5 separate regions of the Homo sapiens genome follow, and all the other regions are linked to region 4. The links are contacts of gene promoters, found by promoter capture Hi-C in blood cells and fetal thymus (Javierre and others, 2016). All regions are on one chromosome and are shown on one strand. Each heading gives the region's core, a stretch centred on a gene start or on the middle of the fragment in contact. The rest is flanking DNA. Distances are from core to core; before and after follow the strand shown. Region 1 has its middle 220 kb from the start of LINC02227. Region 2 has its middle 260 kb from the start of CLINT1. Region 3 has its middle 260 kb from the start of LINC02227. Region 4 holds the start of EBF1 (EBF transcription factor 1). Region 5 has its middle 27 kb from the start of LINC02227.

Region 1 (2,789 bases), core at 22-2,521, 910 kb before region 4:
CAGGCAGTACACACTACAGTCTCTTTCTTTTAACTTCTAATTACCTATATAGTAATATTCACCAGCAATACCTATCTGAGACTTGTTCTTTAGTAGATTCCTTAGGAGGAGCTCATGGGAACAGTGTTCTCTGAGTTTTTGCAGGTTAGTAGCTATTTGTGATTTTCTGGATATAAAATCCTTAGTTCACATTTTCTCTCTTTGAATATCTTAAATATACTACTGTAATGTCTCCTGGCATAATGAATTGCTGTCAAAAAAATTTGAGGATAATTAATTTTCCTTATTGAGTATGTGCCCTGTTTGCCTAGATGTCCAAATAATTTTTTCTTTTAAATACAATAATTTTTCTAGACTATGTCTTAGTTTTGGTCATTCTGGGTCAATATTCCCAGGTACATGGCATGTTCTTTTAATATACGGTTCAAATCACTTTTTTTTTGGTATCAGAAAAACTTTTTTGAACTATAGTTTTTAATACTGTTCCCTTGAGGATCATCTCTTCTCTCGTTTTCTTCTTCAGGGTCTCCTACTAGTGGTATATTGGATCATCTTTGCCTATTTTCCAGTTAACTCTTTAATGTAAGTTCCAGTTGTTTCACTTTTTTGATAATTCATCAGAGGATCTGAGCAAAATGTAAGCCTATTTTAAAACTGATTTATAATTTGGGGTAGTGATTGAGAGTGGTTTTTAACTATTATTTTCATTTTATTGGGGACCACTAGAGAAGTGGAACTAAAATCCCCAATGAACAGTATGCATTTACGGTACAACAGCAGGCCACTAGAAAAGACAGCTTGTTGCCTCTGAGATCATACAGTCTAAAAATCTAAGACTGGCACTGGAGGTAAAAGCTTCCTACTTTTATGGGATTAGAAATCTTTTCTTTGCTCTTTCTAATTACTAAAACTTATTAGAGACAGAAAATCTAACTCTCATCAAGCATCTCAATTGAGGGAGATTTTATTTATTGGTTTTACCATAATACCTAAAGTAGTGAGGATGAGGATGGCTTTCTAGGCAGGGGAAATGATATGAGCAAGTGCCTGGAAGGCAGTCAGAGGAAAACATGCCTTGTGGCTTAATGGAATACTTTTTAATGGAAAGGAGATAAAATAGTTATCTCCAAATATCCTAAGTTCTTTGTGGTTCAAAGTAAAACCATTCGTAATAATAGTGTAAGTTGCTGAACTCAGTGACCTGCACTCTTATTTCTGAAGTATATTAGTTTTCTGATGCTGCTATAATGAATTACCACAAATTTAGTGGCTTAAAACAATACAGATTTCTTCTCTTACAATACAGGTCAGAAGTCCAAAATGGGTTTTCCTGGGCTAGCTAGAATCAAAGTGTTGGCAGGGTTCCCTCTGAGATTCTGGGAATAGAACTTGTTTTCTTGTCCTTTTCAGTTTCTAGTGGCCATCTGTATGTCTTTGCTTATGGCCCCTTCCTCCGTCTTCAAATTTTATCACTCCAGTCTCTACCTCCATCACCACGTCACCTCCTTTCTGTAGTCATAACTCCACCTGTATTTCCCTTAGAAGGATACTTATGATTACATGTAAGGTCTACCTAGATAATCCAGGATAATCTTTCATCTCAATGTCTTAATTTTTTTAAATTTATTTTTAGATTCAAGGATACATGTGTAGGTTTGTTACATGGGTATATTGTGTGATGCTGAGGAGAAGCTTCTAATGATCCTGTCACTCAAGCAGTGAAGATAGTACCTGATAGGTAGTTTTTCAAACCTTTCCCCAGCTCCCTCCTTCCCCACTTCTGGAGCCCCCACTGTCTACTGTTCCCATCTTTGTGTCCATATGTATCCAGTGTTTAGCTGTCACGTATTAGTGAGAACAGGCTGTATTTGATTTTCTGTTTCTGCGTTAATTCTCTCAGGATAATGGCCTCTAGCAGCATCCATGTTGCTGCAAAGGACATAATTTCATTCTTTTTTATGGCTGCATAGTATTCCATGGTGTACATATACCACATTTTCTTTATCCAATCCACCATTGATGGGCAGCTGGGTTTATTCCATGTCTTTGCTATTGTGAATAGTGCTGTGATAAACATACACCATCTCAAAATCTTTAGTCACACCTGCAAAATCCTTTTTGCCATAAAGCAAGATTCACAGGTTCTGGGGATTAGGACCTGGATATCTTTAGAGATCACTATTTAGGCCTACCACACGCATAAGCTCTTTTTTTTTTTTTTTAAATCAAAGAATCCCTTATGATGGAAGGGAGTAAATTCATTTTCAGGGAGGTAATAGGGCTGAGCTCAAAATAGTCCCTGGAAATCTATAATTTCTTTGAAGACTAATGTTTTATCTTAAAAATCTGTTTGAATTTTCTGATTTACATTTGTGCTTGCTTTCTAATAAGAATAATCTACCTGCCCCACTGTTAGGCACTGAAAGAAAAATTGGTCTGGGAAGATGTATTGTGATTTTTTTTCATGGCTATGATGACACTGAGTATACCTTGGAGGTAACTGTGTCTAATTTGGATGACACGGCATCACATCATAGGAAAGAGAGCAAATTAAGAGGTGTCATTGGCCTTAACTCTGGCTGACTCAGGCCTAGCTCAATAACTTGGGGGTGAGGGAGAGCCCCATTGGATGTTTTTCACATTCTGATTGCCTCTTGCTCAGAATTCCCCATTCATGCCTGAGTCCCATGAGTGGAGCAAGGGGTCTCAGTGGGGTGGGAAGTAAAGGCAACCAGTAAGACTTGCTCTTTAATTAGAAAGTGAGTCCCTAGAGATTTTGAATACCATTT
Region 2 (2,700 bases), core at 106-2,605, 980 kb before region 4:
TCTTGTGACTAACACTGTTCAGGCTCCAGAGGAACATTTCTCCACATCTCTTGCCCTGTGTCCTCAAAACAAAAGGCCACTGCATCTAAAAGCTGTCAAGGTTTGACTGAGGGCTATGCTGTTGCCGACCCTGGAAACTAACACAGCTTCAGAACGTGGGAAGGATTTGAGTAGATGAAGTATTTAGGTAAAAGGAAAGACAAATAATTTGATAATTCTTCTTCTCAGATATCAAAAAAATTTTGCATAATAAAGTGTTAGTTTCTAGTGGAGTCAGTCATCCATTTTCTTGCTTCATCTTCCAAAAGGTGATTGTGAAAGTGCTTATGAATTCAGTTGCGTATAGTGGCTGAGGAACATTTTAGTAAAAAATTGACATTACTTCTAAATTTGTGTATGTATTTTTATGTCTAGTGGTAAAAAGTATGAAATATGGTACTGAGTCTTTATATTGGCAACTAGATGTTCTTTCAAACTAGAATTATGAGTAGTTTTATTTTTATAAAAAGATTTTAATGTGTTTTAATTAGATTTTTAAAAAGTAAAGACATTTCAGCTTTATTTAAATAATTTGATTTAAAATATTGGTATTCATTAATGTAATTAGCCTTTTGTTTTAATTTTAATAGATAAAATTAATATTTTAGAATAAAACAGCATTTTTACAAACAGGAAAAATAATTTTAAGTGTTTTGATTTTGTACAGTTATATTAGAATTTTTGATAAAAATTAATTTTAATATGGAGTAATTTGAATACAGTTAACTTTTAGTCTTTTGGATGATTATTGTCAAAAGAACAAATTATGTGAAAGTCTTACTTATAATAACATTTATTTTGCTAAAATAAAAAATTTGGATGAATGATAATTTGCATTATCTACATACTTATTTTATCATTTATCCAAGCTTTGCTAGCCCATCAACAAAACACACAAACATGCATAATAATAATTATTAAATGGAACAATCTGATATTTTGCCAACTTTCGGACATTTAAAACCATAGATTTATACTTTTTGTCATATAAGAGCCATGGATTTACATATATTTGTAGGCTTCACCATTTTGTATATTTATCAAGTGGATAAACAGAAAATATTTTTTAAAGTTTTTTTTTTATTTAAAACTTAAACAAATTTTGTTCATGGAGCTTAATTTGAACTCTTGTTCCAAACTTTGTAAAGGTTGGTAGAGGCCAGCCAGTAGGCTATGGCTAAAATTGGGTTTTGTTCTGTGTGGTGGAGAGCCACTGGGGGCTTTTGACAGGGAAAAGCAATGGCCCTGCTGATGTTCTGAAGGGGGCTGTGCTGGCTGCTGTGGAGACAGCGGATGTCACTAGGGGGCAAGGACACTGGCTAGCAGACTATTGCAGTGGTCCAGGCAGGTTCGAGGGCTAGAGTGGTGGAGGTAGAATAGGTGAGAAGTGAGTTGGAGCTAGTTTTTGAAGGTAGAGACAAGAAGACTTGCTTATGGATTGGTGTGGAATGTAAGAACAAAGATTTGAGAATGACTTCGAAGTCTAAGCCCCTGGCAAGGGATGGTGTTATTTACTTCTTACCTCTTAGGATTCTTGTGAGGATTACTGAACTGAAATGATATATGTAAAATGTCTAGTATGTTGCCTGGTACGTAATAGCGGCTCAATAAATGGTAGCGGTGAACATTTCATTATCTTCTCATTTGTTCATCTCTAGAGCCATGCAAGATACTGACATTATAATTTTCTTTTCCCTAGAAAAGAAATTAGCAAAGGAGTTGAACATCTTTGTCAAGGTTAAACAGCTAACAAATTGTAAAAGCAAGCTTAGAACTAGAGATTTCCCCATGAGAGACGCATGCAGAGAGCCTTTGAGGGCAGCTAAACCAGAGCAGGAGTTGGTGTTTGCCAAGTGTGGTTCGGGAACCTGGAATTTAAACTTCAGTGTACTGTAGGTATGTTTTTTAAGAGGAACAGGTAAAAATACCTCTTCATGGAATCAGGGGTCAGGATTCTGAGTTCCCGGGAGGACTGAATCAGCGATGAGGCTCAGTCATCAAGACATTAGCAGGCTTTTCTCAGAGTCAGCTCACATAACTGCCGTGTCCTTCCTGTGCCTGTTAGTTTCAGTGAGTTACAGCCAGAGTATTTAACAGCAGACGCATCCAATGTCTATTAAGTATCATATTTCAGGCATCATTCTAGGTTTTTATATGTATTATTTTTCCTTTAATTCTTACAATAGCCCTGTGAAGTAAGTAGTGCAGTGATCTCTAGTTTACAAGTCAGGAGATTGAGCCACACTCTGGTTAATTAACTTGCCCAAGGTTATGTATCCAATAAGTGGTAGAGCCAGGGTTCAAGCCCAACCATCAGATCTTACCCACCCTCAAACCATTTCATTGTAAAGATTTTAAAACCAAAGCTTAGAGAGGTCAAACACCTTGCCTAAGATCACACAGCTGGTTGATGGCAGGACCCAGAACCCTGAAGCCCGAACTCCAGTCCAAGTCTCTTCCGCTGGCCCAGGCTAAAAGGATCTTTTGCTTGCCTTTTGGAGGCTTTGACCTGTTTAGGGAATGGGCCCCAAATCTGGGCACAGTGCCAGATTTTTGTCTAGATGGTTTTGAAATTATGGTTTCTTTTATCTTTTTCAATCTTATTTTATGAACCTGGTGTGGAGAACTTGTTCACAGTTCTCTGCTTGGTTTCCCTGTGTA
Region 3 (2,700 bases), core at 127-2,626, 950 kb before region 4:
TCACTTCTTTGCATCCATTACAATTTTATTATCCAGGCGTGCCTCCCTAGACACTCTACTTTAGTCTTGTGCATTAAGAAAATTAACACGTCTTTCAAGTCTCTTTTAATGTACAGTTTCCTCATCCTTTCTTTTCTTTTTCTTACAATTTACCTTTTGACCTATAGTTTTCCTACAATATAGATATTGCTGATTGCATACTCATTGTACAGTCCAACATGTTCCTCTTTATCTTCTGCAAATTGGGAGCTACATTGGGATACTTGGTTAGATTCAGATTCAATTGATTTGGTAGGTGGCATTGAGTTCTTTTACTAAGAGGCACACACTATCTGATTTTTGGTCTTTTTAAGAAATGTTAACATTAGCCAATGCTCAGTGCTTGGATTCATTAAATCACTGGAAATTGCCAGATGGTGATATCTAATGCTATCATTTCCTTGTCATTTATTAGCTGGAAAACATAAATGGATGCTTCCCCTCATCTACTTTTTGATTACCCCGTGGTATTGTTCATATAGGAGATATAGGATAAATGCTTGATTCTCTTCCTTTATTTACTGGTTTTAAAGATAATGAATTGCTTCTATCATCCTTTGAAGGTAATTAGTTTTTTTTAATCATAAATTAAAGGACTGGCACTTCAATTAATGAGTTTCTAGACTTGCACTTTTAGTCTACATCTCAGGTGTCTTTAGTGTTCTGAATATACGGGTCAGTGCTTATACCTGTGAACTTGGCTATTCTCCTCCTTCCAGATCACCCTGGAAGGAAGCAGCCACACTCTCTATGGACTACTCAAAGGCCAGTGAAAGAAGCTTGATTTTGGTTTTGTATCTCTTTATTTTTGGTGCTAGTGCCAGGTGAGGGCTAAAATGGCCATGAATGTAAAGTGTTCCTGCTGAAGGACTTAGAACATTTATGGTCCAGTTGGCATATCTTTGTCACTGTTAAGTATCCCATTTATCTGGCCTTTCCCTGCTGATCCCAGAGCACCAAGCCCCGCTCTGATCCTACATCTGGCTTTCCGTTCAACTTGACAGCAGGAAGAGAATGCCCAGATCATACTTGCACAAATATTTTCTTTTTGCTCAGTGATTAGATTTTTCACTAGAAATGAGTAAATTGGCATTTTGTTCTAAAATCGTATTTTATGTTCTTTTCCAAGAACATGTGATCTCTAGAAATACTTTCCTTTTAACCCTGCTTTTTTTTTTTTTTTTTTTTTTTCCAAAAGGCTTTGTCCAGTTTTAGGATGACTCTGTACTTGACTGGTCCTTTTTTTTTTTTTTTTTTTTTTTCTCAGTTTCTTCCAAGGGAGACACTTACAGTCCTTCTAGGTAACTGAGAAAAAGCACATTCTTTTTAACCTGGGTCCACTCATCCACATGGCCCTGAGGCTGGCCATTGAGTCCTCTCATTCCCTCACCCCAGCTAGCAATGAGGTACTGCTGTTAGAAACCAGGTACCTCTCCTTGGCAACAGCAGCTGCTAACTTACAAGCAGGTCATTAAGTAAGGGTAATGATGGATACAACCAGATTGCCTGGCCTTAAAAAAAAAATCACTCCTTACCAAACTTTCTTTTCTAGAATGAAAGAGAATGCCAGTTTGAATCTCGAGTCTGTAAGTAAGCATTTAGAACCCAAAGATGACCTAAAACACATTCTTACCCCATCTCTCGACAGGTGAAAAAAGCCAAAATATGTGTTTTACTTTTTGCTCTTGCTCTGGACATACCTAGGCCCAAGTTAGAAAATCGTTCCCCCGTGACAATAAATCTGACGTTTTCTGTTATCTCTGGGGAACTGGTTTGTAAAATTTCACAGCCTTGTTCTCCTTGACTGGCTGAGTCATATGGAAAATAAAAATGAATAAAAAATAGCAATGAGTACTATAGCCCACAAAGCAAAGTCTAAATTAAGCAACTTCACTTAAAGCTTTGGTGTTAGAGACCTAATTAATTAAAAACACTGGGGTTAAACAATTGCCCATCCATCTTTAAGTTGAAGGGAAGGACAGAGTCCATATGATGTTCCACTGAAGAATGAACAATGGCATGGGTCCTGGGTGTTCCTGATTTCATAGAGCACTGTGGAGACTTTTTAAATGTCCCCTTTTTCCTGAGACATATGGACTCTACACCATTGTCATACTTAATCGCAGAAATTGGGTTCCCATGCTCCTATTTGTTTGTTTCCTTGCTTGAGGCCTGTGGCTGGGGCCTTGTGTGTTTTTAGCAATTGGAGTCAGCTTTTGTTTGGCCTTTAAGATGAAATAAGACAAAACCATACACATGTTACAAAACATCAGAATATAAAGGGGATTATTGGTGCTGTAATTAAAGAACTAGGAGGTCATTATTCCAGTTGTCCCTCCACCCTCCCACCACATGGCTCTCTGCTAGCCCAGGAACAAAAGAGATTTAAAAATCAGACAGCCCTCAGTTTATTTTAATGGCAGCCTCTTAAGTCTGGGCATAGTTGGAGGGTGTTTAATTGACAGATGACAGTTTGCTCTGTCTTGGGGGTCTCTCAGACTGGAGAAGCATCAAAATAAACCAATCCCAGATAACCAAAGAATCTGAGCTCTTGTTATGCAAACCTGTGAGTATGTGACAAAACATACCTACCTACCTATGTGTATATCACCCTAATAACCTTAATGTCCAGGCCCCCCTTCTGCTCTCTTTTCGGAAGGC
Region 4 (2,744 bases), core at 49-2,548:
AAGGAAAAGAGTGAGGGAGAAATTAAGGGAAGGTGGGGGAAAGAAATGAGAGAAGGAAATGAAAGAAAGAAGAAAGAAAAGAAGGCAGGAAGAGAGACAGGAAAGAACGAAGAACGAAAGAAATGGAAGGAGGGAAGAGGGGAAGAAAGGAAGAGGAAGGAGAAGAGAAGAAAATAAAGGGGGGAGAAAGGAAAGAAGGAAGAAAGAAAAAAGAAAGGCAGGAAGAGGAAAGAGAAAGAAAAAGGAAAAAGAAAAGGAGGAAAGAAAAAAAGAAAGAAAAAGAAAAAAGAAAGAAAAAGGAAGGAAGGAAGAGAAAGAAAGAAAGAAAAAAGAAAAGAGGGAAAGGAAGAGCGAAGGGAAAGAAGAAAAGAGAGCCGGCCGGAAAAGAAAGAGCAATCACATAAAAACATAAAACACAGATCTCCAACATGCTGTGTTGAGACGCCTCTTCTGGGTTAAAACAAAATGAAAACAGTCACAGACGAGGCAGGGGAAAGTGCTGGCAAAGCGTGGGCTCCTCGCAGACAGCTCCAGGTCCTCCGGCCGCAGGCGACGAAGGCAGAGCGGCTGGAGAGCGCGGAGCCCCGGCGGAGAGCGGAGCGCAGCGGCTGCGGACTCACCCCGCCGCCCGGCCCCGCGGCAGCAGCTGCCGCTGCCGCTGCCGCCTCCGCCTCCCGGCTCTCCCGCTCGCGGCTCACCTCGGCCGCGGTCCCCGCGCAGTACCCACCTCTGCGCCGCCGTGTTGGCGTCCAGCACCCCGGCGCCCTGCATCCACGTCCGCACCGCGTTCATGCCGCTGCCCAGCGGCTCTTCCTTCATGCTGCTTCCACTCCGTTGGATGCTTTCCTGAATCCCAAACATGAAAACAACCTTTTCTTGTGGAAAATCTCCTCCCCCTTGAAAAAAATTAAAAAAAAAAAAAAAGGAAAGAAAAGAAAGAAAAGAAAAGAAACAAAAACGCCAACCAGAGATTTTTTTTTTTCTCAGACGATGAACTCGCACTTAGAAGATCAAGGCGGGCTGGAAAGCAAATTTTTAAAAAATGTAAACCTCTGCTCAAAACTGAGCGATAACCCGAAAAAAAGAAGAAAGGGAAAATCCAACGAAAAGACCAAAATAATAAAATTAGAGATGTATGCTTGGCTGTTGGGGGTTGTTTGGTTGGTTGATTTTTGGTTTGGGTGCTTTTTTTTTTTTTTTGCTTTTTTTTTTTTTTTTTTGTAATGATCACAGGCCGGTGGAGGACAGGAGGGGCTGGAGTTTCCTTTTGTAGAGGTACCCTTCACTTGAAGAAGCAGGAAGAAAAAAAAAAAAAAAAAAAAAAAAAAAAAAAAAAAACCCTGATGGCAATTTAAGAAACAATAGACTCAACTCGCGCTGCCGGCTTTGCTACTTCAAGTGTCATTTTCCACAACCAGGCAAGTTTTTTCCTCTCTCTCTCTTTTTTTTTCCTCCTTCTCTCCCAACCAAAGATGTTTCTTTCCTTTGCGTGTAGATGAGGAGGACGCTGGTTGCCGTAGACAGATACACCAGAGAGGGTGGGGGGAAGGGGAGAGAGGGAGAGAGGAAAGGGGGGGAGGGAAAGAGAGATAGAGAGGAGAGGGAGAAAGAGAGAGGGGTGGACCCTGCTGGATGGAGATTCTGTTTTCTCCTTGCTAAAATAGAAGTGATTTGCAGGCTTTCCCTATGGAATCCAGTTTGACTTTCCCCAGAGCTAAACACAGGCACACTAACCCCAAAGGGAGGAGGCGGGGCCCGCGCATCGAGGCCCCGCCCCTTCATTTGCATAACGTCATCTTTCCGCCCACCGCAGCCAATCGCGGCCCGGGAGCCGGCTCGCTGGCGGCGCCAGGCCACGCTCTCTCATTAACATCCCGCTCCCGGTGGCGCAGGGGAGCCGGCCAAAGTTCCTCGCAAAGTGGCGAGCGAAGGAGCGCTGAGCACTGACGTCTGGGCTGGGGAGGAGCGGGTCCGAGCGAGGACGGAGAGGGGACAGAGGGAAAGGGAGGCGGGTGTCTTCCTCAGGAATTTGAGCTGGGGATCTGCATCCTGGCCATTGCAGTCCTTTAGCATCCTCGCCGCGCCCTGAGCGCGCTGGAGGCTCGCAGGCTGCGCCCTCCCAGGGCTGATGCCGCGTCCTGCTCCGCCGTTCTGGGACGTCGGGGACAAAAGTGGAGGAGACGGGAGAGCCCGGGCAGAAAAAGCAGGACGCGCGTCCCAGGTGCCCACCTCTTCGCTTTGAGGCGGGGGCGGTGGGATGGAATATGGGTGCGCGAGGTCGGGGCTGGTAACTCTCGGAGGGGCACGGCCTCCACGCTGGGAGGGATGAATGGACGCTGGGCCCCGGCAAATGAGGCGCTGTGGGTCCCCAGGAAGTGGGGTACCAGGCTCTACTCCCACCCCGGCCTCTGAAACGCTTCTCTCTCGGCCGCTAGCCTAGAGGCTGCCAGGGTTGGGCACTGTTCTCACTCACACGCTCACCTCTCTCGGGCAGTCCTCGAGATATGTGAATGGTGGAATGAATGCTCTCACTGGGGCTGTGTCAGGATGCGTTTTTAAATTTTCTCAAATTAAATGCCAACCCCTCATTCCCCACCCCAAGTAGTTGGTTCGTTTGTTTTTAGAGTAACTACCAAAGCAACAGCAATGTTAACCGTCCTTGATTAGCTGGTTATTTGGTGTAGGGTTTTTCTCATCCTCCTTTATTCTTCCTGTTAAAAAGGAGGGCTTGAACAAATCCTTCC
Region 5 (2,700 bases), core at 151-2,650, 660 kb before region 4:
AAGAGGCCCTGGTAAATGCTCAATAAATGATAGATATTGTTACTCTCATGACTATGATCAATGCCCTTCAGCCAAAGACCACCAGGAAAATACTGTTGTTGAACAAGTTGGGTTTATTACTAATTTCAGTGAGAGAGAATGCACACCATGAGGAACTATAAGTCATCTCAGTAAGAGAGTGTTAGAAAGGACTTGTGGGACACAAGCTTGCATTAGGTGATTTGGGAGAGAGTTTAAGGAAGCAGTTTTCTTCTGAATTGGTGCTGTCAGGAAGTAGGAATAATCCTATGATTCAGTATCTAAAGAAATCTTATTTAGAGGGAGAGACTAGATGAAGGTTGAGTATCTAAATCAGTCTTATATAGAAGAAGGGAATGCCAGAACAGTTCTAAGGCTGTAATTGATTAAGAAGTAGCAATCATTCACATTAGCCAGGAAGGAGGGGAGATTGAGCATTTTTGCAGTTTGAACAATGCTGAAGTTTCTCTGTGTTCAGACAATATTATGGAATGGTCTAGTCTTTGTCTCGCTCCATCATGGTCACAGAGTGACCATGTCTGAGGTTGATGCTCTTTGAAATTGCTTACATTCCAAAAGGGAACATCAAAGCCTAGCCAACAGTACTAGATCAGCTCCTGGATGTCTTGCACAGCTTTTCTGTTTCTTGGTATGACTAATGTAATAGTAATAGCCACCATATTGAACACTTTTTACTTTCCAGACATTGTGCTGAGCAGTTGACCTGCATTAGCTAATACCATTCTCACAACCACCCAGTAACGTGAGTGCCATCATTAACAATCTACAAATGAGGAGACAGGCTGATATGGTTTGGATCTGTGTCCACACTTAAATTTCATGTTGAATTGTAATCCCAGTGTTGGAGGGGGTCTGGTGGGAGGTGACTGGATCATGGGGGTGAATCTTTCATGAATGGTTTAGAACTATCCCTTTGGTGCTGTTCTCATAATAGAGTTCTCATAAGATCTGGTTGTTTAAACATGTCTAGCACCTTCCCCTTCTCTTTGTCCCCCCTGCTCTTGCCATATAAGAGGGCCTACTTCCCCTTTGCCTTCTGCCATGGTAGTAAGTCCCCTGAGACATCCTCAGAGGCTGAGGAGATGTCAGCATTATGCTTTCTGCACAGCTTGCAGAACCCATGAGAATTATACCTCTTTTCTTTATAAATTATCCAGCCTCAGGTATTTCTTTATAGCAATGTGAGAATGGACCAATACATAGGCCCAGAGAAACTGAACAAATTTGGCCAAAATTATGGAGCTGGGAATAGGTGAAGTTTTATGAAAACCCAAGACTCTCCACCTCCACTTAGTCTCTGATGTTCAACCTTATGAGAGCAAAAGCTGATTGAGGACCTAATTTGGGCCTGGTGCTTTGCAAGCATTATCTCATTTATTCATGATCCTTTGCTATAAAGAAACTTGTAATCCAGCGTGAGATAAAAAACTAATGTCAACATCTGCAATATATGGCAGCTTATCATCCAACTGTTATAAATGTGTAGAGGAAGAAGTGATATATTCATTCATTCAAAAAATATTTGTTGAACTTCTACAATGTAAGGCATCATGTTAAATGTGAGATCTAGAGTTGTATCAGTGAGATATATTGAGTTCATGACCTCTTGAGAATTATGTTTTTTTGTGGGAAAGAGAAACGTTAGACAATTAAACAAATAAATATGTAATTATACATTCAGAAAAAGTGTATGAAGATAGATAACACATCTTAATAGTATACAGTAACAGTACTAGAGCAGGGCAGATGTATAGCTCTACTAGGTGTCCGGGAAGGACCTCTGGAGAAGTAACATTTCAGCCGAGACCTACCAGGTGCCAAGGAGGCAGTTTCCAGAAAAGCCGAGGGAAGAGCCTTCCAAGCAGTGGAAATACAGAGTGTAAGGGATGTATGACTGGAATACTCTAGGGAAATCCTGGAAAATTAAGAAGATCCAGGGTGACTGGGGCATCATGGCTTGGGATGAGATAGGGAAGATAGCCAGGCAGATCATAAGGCAAAAGGATGCAAAATTTTCTTCTCCATTCAATGGGAAACCATTGAAGGCTTTTAAGAAGGGAGATGAATTAATTCCAAATGAGAGTCTAAAGAGGACTCAATGGCAGAGCAACACTGGAGTTGGGCTGTGGAGGAGGAATATTATCAACAAAAGTAGAGAGTGATATACCAAAAAGAAGTAGACAATGTGAAAAAAGGCACAGAGTCCAGGAACCACCAAATTGGTGTCCAGATTGGTGAGTTAGTCTGTGCCCCTGAGAGAAGTGTGCATGCTGACAGTGCAGGGTGGAAGTAAATTCTGAAAGTTGCCCTTGGAGTTAGACTGTTGGACATGAAGTTCGAGTTTCTATAGACAGTGGGGAGTCATAGCATTGAGGGTCATAAGACTGACAAATGGAATAAGAGACCTAATTTATACTTCTCTTTTGTGCTTTCTTATTTTTATGGATTGGTTTGTGAGTACTCCTTGGCTCTTCTCAGACCAAACCCAGTGATAACACAGCCAGAAGGACAGGTTAGGGTTTTTTATAAAAGCAAAGCAAACAAACACAACCTTTGAAGCTTGCAATATTGAAGAGATTCATTTTCCTATGTTGCTAATGCTTTGTATTATGATTACTGTTATAAATTAAGTAGTTATTCTCAAAAAGCCTCAGACTTCTA

Evidence for each region. The method cuts DNA at HindIII sites, captures the fragments that hold promoters and counts their contacts. A CHiCAGO score of 5 or more calls a contact.
Region 1: a fragment that was not itself captured here is called in contact with the fragment with the promoter of EBF1 in region 4 in 5 of 17 cell types (total B cells, naive B cells, fetal thymus and 2 more); the score reaches 12.9 in total B cells.
Region 2: a contact is called between a fragment that was not itself captured here and the fragment with the promoter of EBF1 in region 4, in 1 of 17 cell types (M0 macrophages). The highest score is 5.4, in M0 macrophages.
Region 3: a fragment that was not itself captured here is called in contact with the fragment with the promoter of EBF1 in region 4 in 3 of 17 cell types (M0 macrophages, fetal thymus and total B cells); the score reaches 6.5 in M0 macrophages.
Region 5: a fragment that was not itself captured here is called in contact with the fragment with the promoter of EBF1 in region 4 in 1 of 17 cell types (fetal thymus); the score reaches 6.6 in fetal thymus.

The regions. Positions count from the first base shown.
Region 1 is chr5:158,191,607-158,194,395 of GRCh38, forward strand. No RefSeq gene overlaps it. Among named protein-coding and RNA genes, the nearest start is that of LINC02227, 220 kb to the right of the region's middle. The HindIII fragment of the contact is 837 bases long and covers 854-1,690 here.
Region 2 is chr5:158,117,954-158,120,653 of GRCh38, forward strand. No RefSeq gene overlaps it. Among named protein-coding and RNA genes, the nearest start is that of CLINT1, 260 kb to the left of the region's middle. The HindIII fragment of the contact is 898 bases long and covers 907-1,804 here.
Region 3 is chr5:158,144,202-158,146,901 of GRCh38, forward strand. No RefSeq gene overlaps it. Among named protein-coding and RNA genes, the nearest start is that of LINC02227, 260 kb to the right of the region's middle. The HindIII fragment of the contact is 1,121 bases long and covers 817-1,937 here.
Region 4 is chr5:159,098,618-159,101,361 of GRCh38, forward strand. EBF1 (EBF transcription factor 1) reads right to left here and starts at 1,299. Exons shown (of 16, transcript NM_024007.5): 1 at 728-1,299. The coding sequence starts at 861. It overlaps LINC02202 (long intergenic non-protein coding RNA 2202), which reads left to right and starts at 1,866. Exons shown (of 3, transcript NR_109890.1): 1 at 1,866-2,221. RefSeq lists a silencer at 472-761 and enhancers at 1,579-2,207, 2,208-2,744. The HindIII fragment of the contact is 12,266 bases long and covers 1-2,744 here.
Region 5 is chr5:158,435,790-158,438,489 of GRCh38, forward strand. No RefSeq gene overlaps it. Among named protein-coding and RNA genes, the nearest start is that of LINC02227, 27 kb to the left of the region's middle. The HindIII fragment of the contact is 2,392 bases long and covers 205-2,596 here.